2 separate regions of the Homo sapiens genome follow, and region 1 is linked to region 2. Evidence: promoter capture Hi-C in 16 types of primary human blood cells and fetal thymus (Javierre and others, 2016). All regions are on one chromosome and are shown on one strand. The core of a region is centred on a gene start or on the middle of the fragment in contact, and the rest is flanking DNA. Distances in the headings are between cores, read along the strand shown. Region 1 holds the start of KIF2A (kinesin family member 2A). Region 2 holds the start of ARRDC3 (arrestin domain containing 3).

Region 1 (6,087 bases), core at 1,207-3,706, about 29 Mb before region 2:
AACATAGCCACATTGCATGTATTTATGGCTGCTCTTTAGGAAGCCACTAGCATACAAAGCCCATAATGAAAGTCTTGGTAAATACATATGCTGATGTGTACCAAAAAAAGTAAGCCTTTTGGGTATGTCTTATAAAGGAAAGGTTTTGTGTTTGTTAAGTGTTATGTCATACATTTTTATGGAGCAAAACAATGTACATATTTTAAAAATACCTTTTATATGGATTAAAGGTTAAGATTAACCATATAAACCACAGAGTGTAAGGTATGTGTCAGCAACCACGATACAAAATAATATTTTATTGGCTGGACGTGTTGGCTCACGTAATCTCAACACTTTGGGAGGCTGAGGCGGGAGGATCATGAGGTCAGGAGATCGAGACCATCCTGGCTAACACGGTGAAACCTCGTCTCTATTTTAAAAATACAAAAAATTAGCTGGGCGTAGTGGCACACGCCTGTAGTCCCAACTACTTGGGAGGCTGAGGCAGGAGAATAACTTGAACCTGGGAGGTGGAGGTGGCAGTGAGCTGAGATCATGCCACTGCACTCTAGCCTAGGCACGACAGAGTTAGACTTCGTCTCTAATAATAATAATAATAATATTTTATGAAACAATGTTAACTTTGAGCTGTATAGCTTGATTTCTTTGCATTCTTTATAAAGTATAAATAAAATATAAATAGATGTTTTATACCTCAGTTGCAGAGACATCAGAAAATGAATTCTAGACAGGAGCTTGAAGAGTTCAGATAAAACTCCCAAAATTATAGAAAAAATAAAAACTAAACCCTGATTTGGTCAAATTTCACTTGAAACCGGGGTACTCAAGTGTGTCATTTCTGGAATGTAAAAGAAGTTATTTTCCACATTGTCTATCCAGTGTGGTTTTTTTTCCATAGAAATTATATGCACTTTAGAATGGATTCAATAGAATTGTTCTTTTGACAGGTATACCTTCAATATGTTCAAGCTACAGATGAAGCCAGTCTTTTAACAGTTTTTTAAGGACCTACATGATTACTTACATTAGATAGAAAACTCTAGGCACACATATATCCACATAAGCATTGATGTATATATCCAGTTTCCAATTTTAAAATTTTAAATTGTATATTTGTAGTTATTGTTACAGGGAGATTATCAATGACTAGGGAAGGCCGGGCGCAGTGGCTCATGCCTGTAATCTCAGCACTCTGGGTGGTGGAGGCGGGTGGATTACCTGAGGTCAGGAGTTTGAGACCAGCCTGGCCAACATGGTGAAACCCCGTCTCTACTAAAAATACAAAAATTAGCCAGGCGTGGTGGCGCGGGCCTGTAATCCCACCTACTCGGAAGGCTGAGGCGTGAGAATCGCTTGAACACAGGAGGCAGAGATTGCAGTGAGCGGAGATCGCGCCACTGCACTCCAGCCTGAGCGACAGAGCAAGACTCCCCCTCAAAAACAAACAAAACAAAACAACAACAACAAAAAACAATGACTAGGGAAAGTAGGCCATGAAAAGTGTTGTTTCCAACCTATCAATTGCCAGTACTACAAGCAGGAGTTAGACGTTTGGAGGTTTTCACACGGTGCTATAAATACAGTTTCCAGGGCCCCGGTACACGTGGCCTTCCTGCTCTGCCAGGATGGAGAGTCTTGCTTTCCACATTGCTGATGTGGTCAGACTAATTAAATTATTGCAAAAAGACACATTCCCTAGTCAACCTTATGTGTCTGCCTTCTTCCCTTGAGTCACAGTTGTTGGCTTTACAGGCCAAGGCAAGTAAGTCTTGAACCCTCAGCAGAAACAGGGCACCAGCATCGGATGCCTCATAACCTGAACAGTTAAGGACGCCCCACCACAGAGCTTCTTTCTGAGTGTGATAAACTATAAGGCAAGACTGTAAAGGGGTGGATCTTCATTTCGATTTAGGGTAGGTGACACCTCAAGGGTGTTTCTTCCCTTCCAGCGTAACTGGATGGGAAACCTACACCAAGTGTGCTTGGGAGGGCTGCTTGGGTCAGCTACCTGTAAGTGGAAATAGGGGGTGCCACCTTCCGATGAAAACCCGGATCCCGTACTGTCAACGGAGGGCCCTTGAATTCACATCCCTCAGCCCGCTAGAAAGCCCCTGAAACCACGTGGCCTTTAACCCATTCCGGCAACAGCGCCAATTCCCGGAAGCGAGAGGGCAAGAAAGCTCGGCGCGACGCTTCCCGCGTCTTCTAGGCCGCGCGCTGAAATCAAACGCGACGCCGGCTAGCTGTGGGCCGGGCCGAGCGCTCAACGCTCCAGCGGCTGGGTAAGCCGCGGCCGCCGCCCACCCCGCTGCAGAGCTGGGCGGGGCCGCCTGGAGGCAGCGGGGAGAGGCCAGCCGAAAAGGAAGAAGAGACGCCGGAGGCGCGCTCTGCGCAGGCGCGCGGCGCCCCGCCTCCCCAGCGTCGGCTCCCCGGCGGGCGGTGCGGGCCCTCCCACTCTACCCCGCGCCGTCTCACGGCCCCGGCCCTAGCTTCACCCCGACTACCCGGCGTGCGCGTCCTCCTGCCGGCCTGCAGGCCCGGGGCCTCCGCCTGCTTCCCCACAGCTGCTCCTTGCGGCCCCGCTTGCGTTCACGCTGTCGCCCGGGCCGGCGCGGCCGCGGGCAACCGCTCCCCCTCCCACACCTACCCCGCCCCCTCCCCGCCTTTTCCGCCCTCCGGTCCCCCTCCCTCGGCCCGCTGCTGCTGCTCCAGATGAGGTGATGGCAACGGCCAACTTCGGCAAGATCCAGATCGGGATTTACGTGGAGATCAAGCGCAGCGATGGTGAGCCGCGCTGCCAGCCCCGCTGGCCCGCTCGGCCCCGTGTTCGGGTGTGCACGGAGGGGACGCGGGCGCCGGCCGCCTCATTGATTGCTTCGCCGGGCTGTGGGGGTGGGAAGGCGGCGGCCGCGGCGCTTTTGTGTGTGGCGTGTGTGCCAGTGAGGCCGGCTTGGGGTCCGCCCGGGCGCTGCTGCAGTTCTCCGGATCGGGCCGCGGGGGAGGGAAGCCGGGTGGGGAAAGGGCCCGGGTGTCGAGGGTCGCGTCTCCGGGGGTCTCTGGGCGAGGGCCGCTCGCTCCTCCTCCCGCAATCTCCAGCCCCCCCCCGGGGACACCAGCCCGGGAGGGAGCGGGCTTCGTTAGGGATGACCCTGCCTCGCGCTTCCCCTTGGTCTTTGCATTTTACCGGCTTGGCCTCTGACGGGGATGGGGATGGGGGTGGGGGAGCGGGAAGACCAGCGATTTCACATTTAGAGAACCGACTGCTGGTCGGAGGCCGAGATGGGGGGAAAGAGCCAGTTCCGTCGCCTTAAACTGCCGTCTGGTTGTCAGGCCTCCCCGGTTTCGTCGTCGACCATGCTGCTTTCTTTTTTGCCACTTCTTGGGAGAAAAATGTGGAGAATATCGCGCTGAGCCATGAATAAGGGTGGGGGAGCAATGGGAAGAAATATTCGATGGGCTTCTCCAAGGTGATGAGACTGTAAAGGGAATGATAGGGGATGGGCAGAGTCAATGCGAGGCACTGCTGAGAGAGTGGGGGTGGGCGACCGGATGTTGATATTTTCACACCCTCGGGAGAGGTAACTGAGAAAAGTGTAAGGCGAGGTGAAGACACATGCTTCATTTTTTTTTTTAAGAGCCTTAGGCTTATGTATCTTTCTCTAGGTTTCTCTTGGGGAAAATGGTTTATGACACTAGCTTGGGGTGTGGAGTGAGATACGCCAGCCAGACTGGAAATAATTCATATTGTAAAGGAATAAATGCACGGAGGGAGATAAGTAAAATTATTTTCTTTCGGTACCAATATTGAAAGAACGAGAGATGTGTGATAATCTCGAGTTGAGCAGTGTTCCTGACTCCATCTCTCATACCGATTCCTTTTTTTTTTTTTTTGAGACGGATTTTCACCCAGGCTGGAGTGCAGTGGTGCGATCTCGGCCCACTGCAACCTCCGCCTCCCGTGTTGAAGCTATTCTTGTGCCTCAGCCTCCTGAGTAGCTGGGATTACAGGCGTTGTCACCACACCCAGCTAATTTTTTGTATTTTTAGTAGAGACGGGGTTTCACCATGTTGACAAGGCTGGTCTCGAACTCCTGACCTCAAGTGATCCACCTGCCTCGGCCTCCCAATGTGCTGGGATTACAGGCGTGAGCCATCGCGCCTGGCCTCGATTCCTTTTATGAGTGCCTTATTTATTAACCTTTAGCCTAGCCTAGTCAGTAGTAACTTGGCTGTCACGTCCACGTGCCCCTTGGATTCTGCCAGGTTTGACCAAGTTACGTGAAGCTAGATTGATTTTCATGTTGTGTGTATGATATATTGGAAGACCCTATATAGCTAATGATTTTTTCCTCCGTTATATTTGAAGTAATTTGTGGTAACAACTGAAACCATCGTTATCCTGTATATGAAAAGATAAATTATACCGCTTAGAGCTTTAGAAATTACCAATAACACTAATGGGAAAGAGATACCTTCTTTACTTGGGTTGAGGTTTCTTTTATATTTTCTCTTCAGATTACTTTCTTGAAAGAGTGCTGTTAATGTCATTTTTTTAGGTAAATACGAGTTCACAGTATACCAGCAAAAGTAGGATTTACATATTATTTTGAAGATTCTGGGTGCACAGCAACACCTGTCCCTGGTATACACCCAAGGGAGAGGAAATCACCACCTTGTGAAGATATCTGCACTCTCGCGTTCATTGCAGCATTATTCACAGTAGCCAAGATAGGGAAGCAACCTAAATGTCCATCGATGGGTGAGGAATGGCTAAAGAAATTATGTGTGTGTGTATACGTTTATGTGTGTGTATAGACAATGTACAATGGAACATTATTCAGCCTTAAAAAAGGAGATCCTACTGTTTACCACAACATAGATGGACCTGAAGGACGTTATGTTAAATGAGATAAGCCAGACACCAAGGAAAATATTGCATAATCTCACTCATATGTAGAATATTTTTTTAAGGAGCTAAAATACACAGAACGAAACAGTGGTTACTACTGGTGGTGGGGAAGGAGAGGAAATGGGGAGATATAGGTCAAGGATACAAAATAGCAGATATGTAGGATGAACAAGTTTAGAGATACAGGGGGACCAATGTTAGTAAAATTGTATTAGAGATTTTTGTTAAATAAGTGGATTTTAGCAGCTCTTGTTAAAGTATGTGAAATGATAGCTATATTAATCTGCTTCACCATTTTGCTGTCTATATTCCATAGCATCATGTTGTAAACCTCAGTTGCACAATGAAATTTATTTTTTAAAAAATTAGGGTGCAATAAAATGTGTAAATTCTTTACACTCATAAGTATGAGTATAGGTGTTAACTTTGAAATCGTATCAGAAAAAGTATATGATATTTGATTTATACATTTTAATTTCTACGGAGCATATTTTATTTAAATTTATTGAACTTGAAGCAATTTTCGTTCTTTTCAGCCTTCACCTTCAGCCTATACCAGAAGTTCCCAGACATACAAGAGCTTTGTGTTCTTACATAAGTGCTACTAACCTAAAGCCACATTTCAAAAGCGGTTTGCCTATAAGAAATTAGGGAAGTCATCACAGTGTGTTATTATCCTAACCTATGGTCATGTATCTTTTTATGTGCCTCAGATGCATGATGGAGTTGGTGGAAGGCAGGAGATTAGTAGAGAACTTCGAAAGAACAGAAGGATCATTTGCATTGGACAGTAGTGTTTCACAATAGAAATTGATGTCTGGGAGAATGCCCCTCAAGCTTTCCCTTTTTCACTTTAAAGAAGCTTGTTTGCTTCCTCTCACTTCCATAACGTCTATATTGGATAAAACACTAGTGGTTATTATAACAAAAATAAACTTTGCAGTTGGAGGAACACTAATATCTGAGACAGTAGAAATGACATGAGTAAAGAAGGGCTGCTTCAGACCATTATTAACTGGTGACTTGATGTTTTTCTTTTGGCTTGCTGATGGCGATCCATGTCCCTATTTCAGACCACACTTTTCCCATCAGTGATACTCTTACACTAATAAACATATCCCAAGGGCAAACAGGTACACTAAAATGAGCTTATTCCTATCTTTCAAGACCATGAT
Region 2 (6,041 bases), core at 2,027-4,526:
CTCTAGCAAGTTTCAGTAATGAAAAGGGTTTTTTTTTCAACTAAAAATGTTTAAATTTAGAATACTTAATTTTAAAATAATGCTCTGATCATAAGTATCTATAAAAATGCCTATTATTTATAATACTTACGTCTGTGGAAGCTCGAAGCTGAATGCATATTCATGCCTTCCTGAATGAATAGTGTGGAAGCCTTCTTCGGAATTATCATCATCTAAAACAAACATAAAAAGAAAACAAAGAATTTATTATTCAACATTTACATACTCCGCAGGGTGGCATAACTTTAAAGATGCTTACATAACAATTAAGACCACAAAACAAGCTTTGGAGTCTGAGAGATCTGAGTTCTAATTCTAACTTCATCATTTCCTCTGGACAAAATAAAAATCCTGTCGTCAGCTGCCTTATCTGTAAAATGGGGATAATGAATACTCACACCCCACAGGCTTTTTATTTTTTCTAATGGAAAATGACCCAAACTGCAAAGCATCTGTTTATAAAATAGTATATATACTCAAAAGGCTCGGGTCTCACATCATGGTAAGACAATGCTATCCTTTGTCTCCAACGGTTTGCTTAAATTTATCACATTAAGACTATAATGTATCAAAGAAAAACTGTTCATGCAACCCTCTTAAAATATGTCAGTTTATAGGGAATAATAATACCAGATGTGAATAGAATAGATACTCCAAAACCACTAGAAAACCTTGTCAAATAGACGGAGTAAAAAAAAAAAAAAAAAAAGCCACACATTGATTTTAATGTCAGATTTATAACTAAAAATAATTATTTATTGAACTAAAAATAATTATTTATTGATCTAAAATGATCACAACACTCAGTTGGTCCTAGCAACGACTAAAACTTGCATAAACTATACCTTAGATAATTACAAAGAACCGCATTTAGGTGGTGTCGGCTTATAAGGAAACAATATTTTCCAACATCCTTGAAAAAAATGAAGTCTAACTATTAATAGTTTCCAGTTTCTATAAAAAAGGGATGACCTTTCATTTTACAACCAATTTTTTTGGTGAAATTATTTTTTTTCAAGTGGCATGAAAATAAATATAATCGAAAATATGGGAGGGGGTTCTAGATCATTAAAGTGCCTATTTAGCGTTTTAAATAATTACAGAAATATCTTTTAAAGTTTTCTTGGTGTAGAAACCTTTACGATTAGCCCCCAGAGTAGAAAAAACTGGCACATTATTTAACTTTCCTTCAGCAAAGTATTGGATATACACAAAAAACGTGATGCCTCCCTGATATTAAACGAGAAAAAGGGGGAAAAAAGCATGTATACGTCGATACTTTCATTTAAAAATCATGGTGATTCGCTTATGTCTCCATACAATTTTCCTCGTCCCCTGTGCAAATTCCCCTGAACGGATTTCAGAACCAAAAACTAGCTGATGAGCTGGGGGCCATTTAAATTCGCTCCCCTCGAAGGCGCCCGAAGTTCGCCTTCCTTTCCCTTTCTTCCCTCTTCGCTCCCTTTTTGTGCCAGCTCAGCAGTCTCATTGAAGCGAGCGGCGGCGGCCGCGCCGTGGTAAACAAGTGCCGGGCTGTCAATCAAGAACTAGACCGGAGCAGGAGAGGACCGGCCTAAACCGGCGCGAGCAGATCCCAGCCGGCCTGCCCGCGCGCCGCCGCCGCCGCCGCTGCCGCCCGCGCGCCCCGCTATACATACGGCATACGTCGCGCGGCGCTCGCGCCCGTGCCCGCGCAACCTAGCCTGCTGGCCGGGGGGCGGGGCGAGCGAGCCGCGGCGCTTCCGCTTTACACGCCCCAGCCGGCGACCGGTTCCATCTGGCTCGGGCCACTCTGACACCTTTAGTTTCGGCAAGGGATATTGGGGTGGCGAAGGGGAGGCGGGGGCCCGAAGGCTTCGGAAAACGATGGGGGAGGGGGCAGAGGATACCCGTCGAAGCCCCCCCCTCCCCCAACATTTCGATATTGGAATCACTTTCCTTCTTCCTCGGGCCAGCCTTTGCTCTGTCCCCTCAGGTCAACTCAAGGTAGACAGTGTGGCGACTGGAGAGGTCGGGGAACAAGCTTTGTTTCAGCTAAGGGGAAAACAAGCGTTCACAGGAGTCCCCTGACACCTCCCACTCGGAAGATAGCTAACGGGGGTCCTGCCAACCCTTCCCATCCAACTTCCATCTGAAAAGGATTTTCTGCTAAAGTTGGGTCCATGGCCATCCAGCACCTGTAAGGCCGGCAGGAGCGTCTGCCCTCTACTCAGTTAAAGCCTGAAGTCGTTTCCTTTCGATGGCCCTTAGGAGGCCCAAAAGAGGGGCGACAGAACATGATGTTGACACGGGCTGGGCGCCCCCAGAAGCCCGGGAACAAACGTGAGTACGGGCTGGGTGGGGGTCGCTCTGGAGGAACCTTTACCGGCGCACGCCGGTTTCCTAGCCTCGCCCCAGCCGCGGCGCGAGCTCACTCTCCCCACCCGCCCGCGCCCAATCCAATCAGCGCCTGCCATCGCCTTAGCAACAGGCTAACAAACCTGGCTCCGCCTATCCCGGGCGCCCGGGGCGGGGTCTCAGTTACCAGGCTAGTTTGAGAGCTCCCAGTTTCAAGTCATTGAAACTATTCCAGACTGAGCTCGTCTACGCGTTGCAGGGTTTGGGGGGCATTTTGTTGGGGGTGCAGGGCATTTAGTTTTCTTTACCACGAAATCATGGTGCAACTAATGAAATTATATTTGTCCTCACATCTCGTTGTTCTACTTTTCCCCACTGCAAGTCTTAACCCCTTGAGGAAAAATCTGTTTTCTTTCATCCGTTTCATAAAAGGCTGCAATATTCAGAAAGGTACAAACACAAAGTCATCTATCTGCTTTTCAACAAATACCAAGGCTGTCATTAGGCATTTGCATCTCCTATCAGTGTTAACACTTGGAGAGATTAATTAGTTATTTCAGGATGCAAAGTACCTGTATCTAACTACGAAAATCCTGCTAAAGAACTGAGTTCACCTTAATAGTTTCAAAAATAATGCATTAATACTGTCCCTCAAAGCATCCTTCATTTCTCACTTGCCTTAGTCATCAGCACTTCTCCAGGATGTACGTTTTTAATATAAAAAATAAGGTAAAATATGTCTCTAATTTTTTTTCTGAAAAATCGCCAACATCTGAACTAAATACTGCATTAAAAAGGAGAGGCACAAAAATTACATAACCAGTTTTAACATTATATTCTTCTTGGGCTAGGAATTAAGTCATCGCCACCACCTGACGCGTGTAACCAATCTGCTGAGAGCAGAACAAGCGCCCCTCCTCACCACCCCCCAGAACTGGTCCGAAACAGGATTGAACCGCTTCTAACAAAGGGTGGAAACTTAGAAAAACAAGCCTAGAGTCTCCTATATTTCCACAATGTAACCATTTAAACAATAGATTGGAAATCTCAGGACTCCTTCTCCTTTTGACAACCCTTTATCTCTCTCTTCTAACCAAAAATCAAATCCAGTGTGCCCTATACTTTTCAATTCCATTTGACTGGCATGGGTTTCATTGAATGCACGTTCCAAAGTTAGACATGATGCTCGGAAAAGAAAATTACTGATCCTAAATGGCTTCTAAACCTGACTCGATACCTATCATAATGACAGATAGTCATTCCTTTAAAATAAGGAATGCTGGGTGTAAATTTTTAAAGGAATGGTAAAGAATAGAGAAAAAACACGTGGGGTGTTGATACCATATGTCAAAATAAGCCACAGAAATCTTTTATGAAAGAACAGTCATCAATTATTTAAAGTCTTTTGCATTCCAATATTAAAAATGAAACACACCCATTAAGTCTCTTAAAAATGTTATTACATTTCTTGATCGAAGTTCAGTTTTTACATCTTAGGTTGCAAGTAAAAGGGCAAAAATCTAAGACTGCAGCTTTTACCAATTCATTTGAAAATATATTAGTAAAACGACTGAATTGGATTCAAACAGAATTTATAAGTAAGGTGCAAATGGACTACAAGTGCGTGTGGCACAGACCGAGCCGGGTACAGAGGTAGCTGAATAAGTGTAGTTTGCAGTCACTTTGCAGATGCCTGCATGCATTACGGCTTAACACACGATGAACGTCAAGGAGAATCCAAACCTTCCAACTTTGCTAACCTTTCTCAAACTGCTTAGTTATGCTAGGAGTAGAATCACGTTAATTCAGAAAACTGAAAAGGTACGTTTCCAAAGAAAATGAGTCCAATGACTTATGAATAACAAAAACTTACCTCTTTCGTGCCCAATTAAGATGTCTTTATGGTTGAAATACTCTACTTCTTCAGTGTAATTCTGTGTATAGGCAGTATTGGAGCCGGCGTTTCTAGATTCAGTCCAGCGTACTTTCGCATGTCCTCTTGCATGAATTTTAAGAGATTTTACTCTGATTTCCCCAGTAACTTCTAAATTTACCCTTCCTGAGACGGTATCCCCACTAGAATACACAGGGACATTGCTGTCATTAAGACAGTCAAAGCTTATTGTCAAACTCTTCACCTTTCCCAGCACCATGTTTATAACAAAATCTATAAAAATATAATGTAAGACAAAAAAGTCAAGATCGCATATAAAATGTGATCTTCACTTAACACTGATCGATATTTTTGCCGTGCAAAATGCTTGCAGGCCGGATCAGTGATTCTCTACAAATAGTTCATTGAGATTTCTTAAAAAGTCAGGGCAGCAGAGGCTGCTGCTCCGCGCTCCCGCTCGTCTCAGTGGTCTCCTTACAAAGACGGGCGGCTAAAAGCTGCCAGCTCACTTTAAGAGCAGCTTTGTGAAAAACAACCCCAGTGCGCAGGCGCAGGCCGCGGCTGCTGTCCGCCCTCCCTGCGCGCCCCCTCCCGCGCCGCGCCGCGCCGCGCTCGCTCCCTTGCCCGCTCGCTCCCGGGTACAGTAGGTGTAGAGCTAGGGGAAGGAGATACTGGAGCTGCTGGCCGGCTGAACCTGACTTCTCTTCATTGTGGGCTCCTATTGGTAGGCAGGCTACCGTATACCCTCGACGTGCTATCTGGAGCCCGTTACCGAGCGCACTCTACTAGAAAGATAATGGCAGAGTGGGGTGCGAGGGTACAAGGGCTGGGTGGGGAGTTTGCAAAGCCAAGTTAGGATAAACTGCAGCGACCAGCCCGAAGCGTGCGTTACCGGCACTGCAGCGTTTTACCAACTGCCTGGATGGGAGGAGGAAAAAGTGATGTGTGAAGAGAGATGGGGGAAGGGAGAAACCGGTTGGGCAAGCGGCCGATTGTTGAGCATAATCTAACGAATTTCCAAAGAAAACGTAATAAAACCGGACAAGAAATATTGTTCATAGACAAGAGCATACTTTGCTTGGATTTTTTTTTTTTAAACCAGTACTTTGTAGGCAGGTTGGAAATGAACTCAGTCGAGGTCAAAGGAACCTTAATCCTTTGAAGAGCGAGGTAGAGAAGCAAGTACAATGTAATCAATAGGCTTTGCTGTCTCCTCAACTTCTTTCTCCTACATTGCTTAATTAGCACCGAAAAACAACCAAGTTGTTTCCAGGATGACACGGGTGGGGGCTGGGGGAAGCTTGATCACTTCCTCGAAGGAAGAAAAAGTCCTTTTAAGACACCACCTACGGCTAGATTTGCAGAGTAAGACATGATTACAACTCCTGTGTCCAGAGGAATAAGAATAGAGTTCGGCCTAAAAAAGTACTACCTTATAAAAGGCATATGACATAGTGGTTTAGCTGACATATTGTTTGCAACAGAATCGGAAAATCTTTGTTAGAAATTAGTGAAGCGCATAAAATTGTTTTTAAAAAGCATGATTTGGTATATAAATAGGGATTTAACTGTGTGAAGCTTTAATTTTCGGCCGAGAGCCTTGGACCATTTAACGTAGTAATTCTCATGATACATCTTAAATATAGGTACATTTCTCTTTTTATTGTGAATGTTTGGTAAAAAATAGCAGTGCTTTCGTCACATCACACTGGGATTCAGAGCATAACAGCATAAACTCATCTAGATTACTGGCAATCAACAGAACTGCCTT

Evidence for each region. Contacts are between HindIII fragments. The CHiCAGO score rates a contact against its expected background, and 5 or more counts as called.
Region 1: a contact is called between the fragment with the promoter of KIF2A here and a fragment that was not itself captured in region 2, in 3 of 17 cell types (total CD4 T cells, non-activated CD4 T cells and naive CD8 T cells). The highest score is 9.4, in total CD4 T cells.

The regions. Positions count from the first base shown.
Region 1 is chr5:62,303,750-62,309,836 of GRCh38, forward strand. KIF2A (kinesin family member 2A) reads left to right here and starts at 2,457. Exons shown (of 21, transcript NM_001098511.3): 1 at 2,457-2,787. The coding sequence starts at 2,724. RefSeq lists a silencer at 2,161-3,190. The HindIII fragment of the contact is 9,341 bases long and covers 1-5,747 here.
Region 2 is chr5:91,378,564-91,384,604 of GRCh38, forward strand. ARRDC3 (arrestin domain containing 3) reads right to left here and starts at 4,754. Exons shown (of 8, transcript NM_020801.4): 1 at 4,250-4,754; 2 at 131-212. The coding sequence starts at 4,529. ARRDC3-AS1 (ARRDC3 antisense RNA 1) reads left to right here and starts at 1,784. Exons shown (of 3, transcript NR_027435.1): 1 at 1,784-2,361. RefSeq lists silencers at 1,646-1,825, 2,446-2,515, 4,661-4,970 and enhancers at 4,824-5,341, 5,221-5,520. The HindIII fragment of the contact is 2,432 bases long and covers 2,061-4,492 here.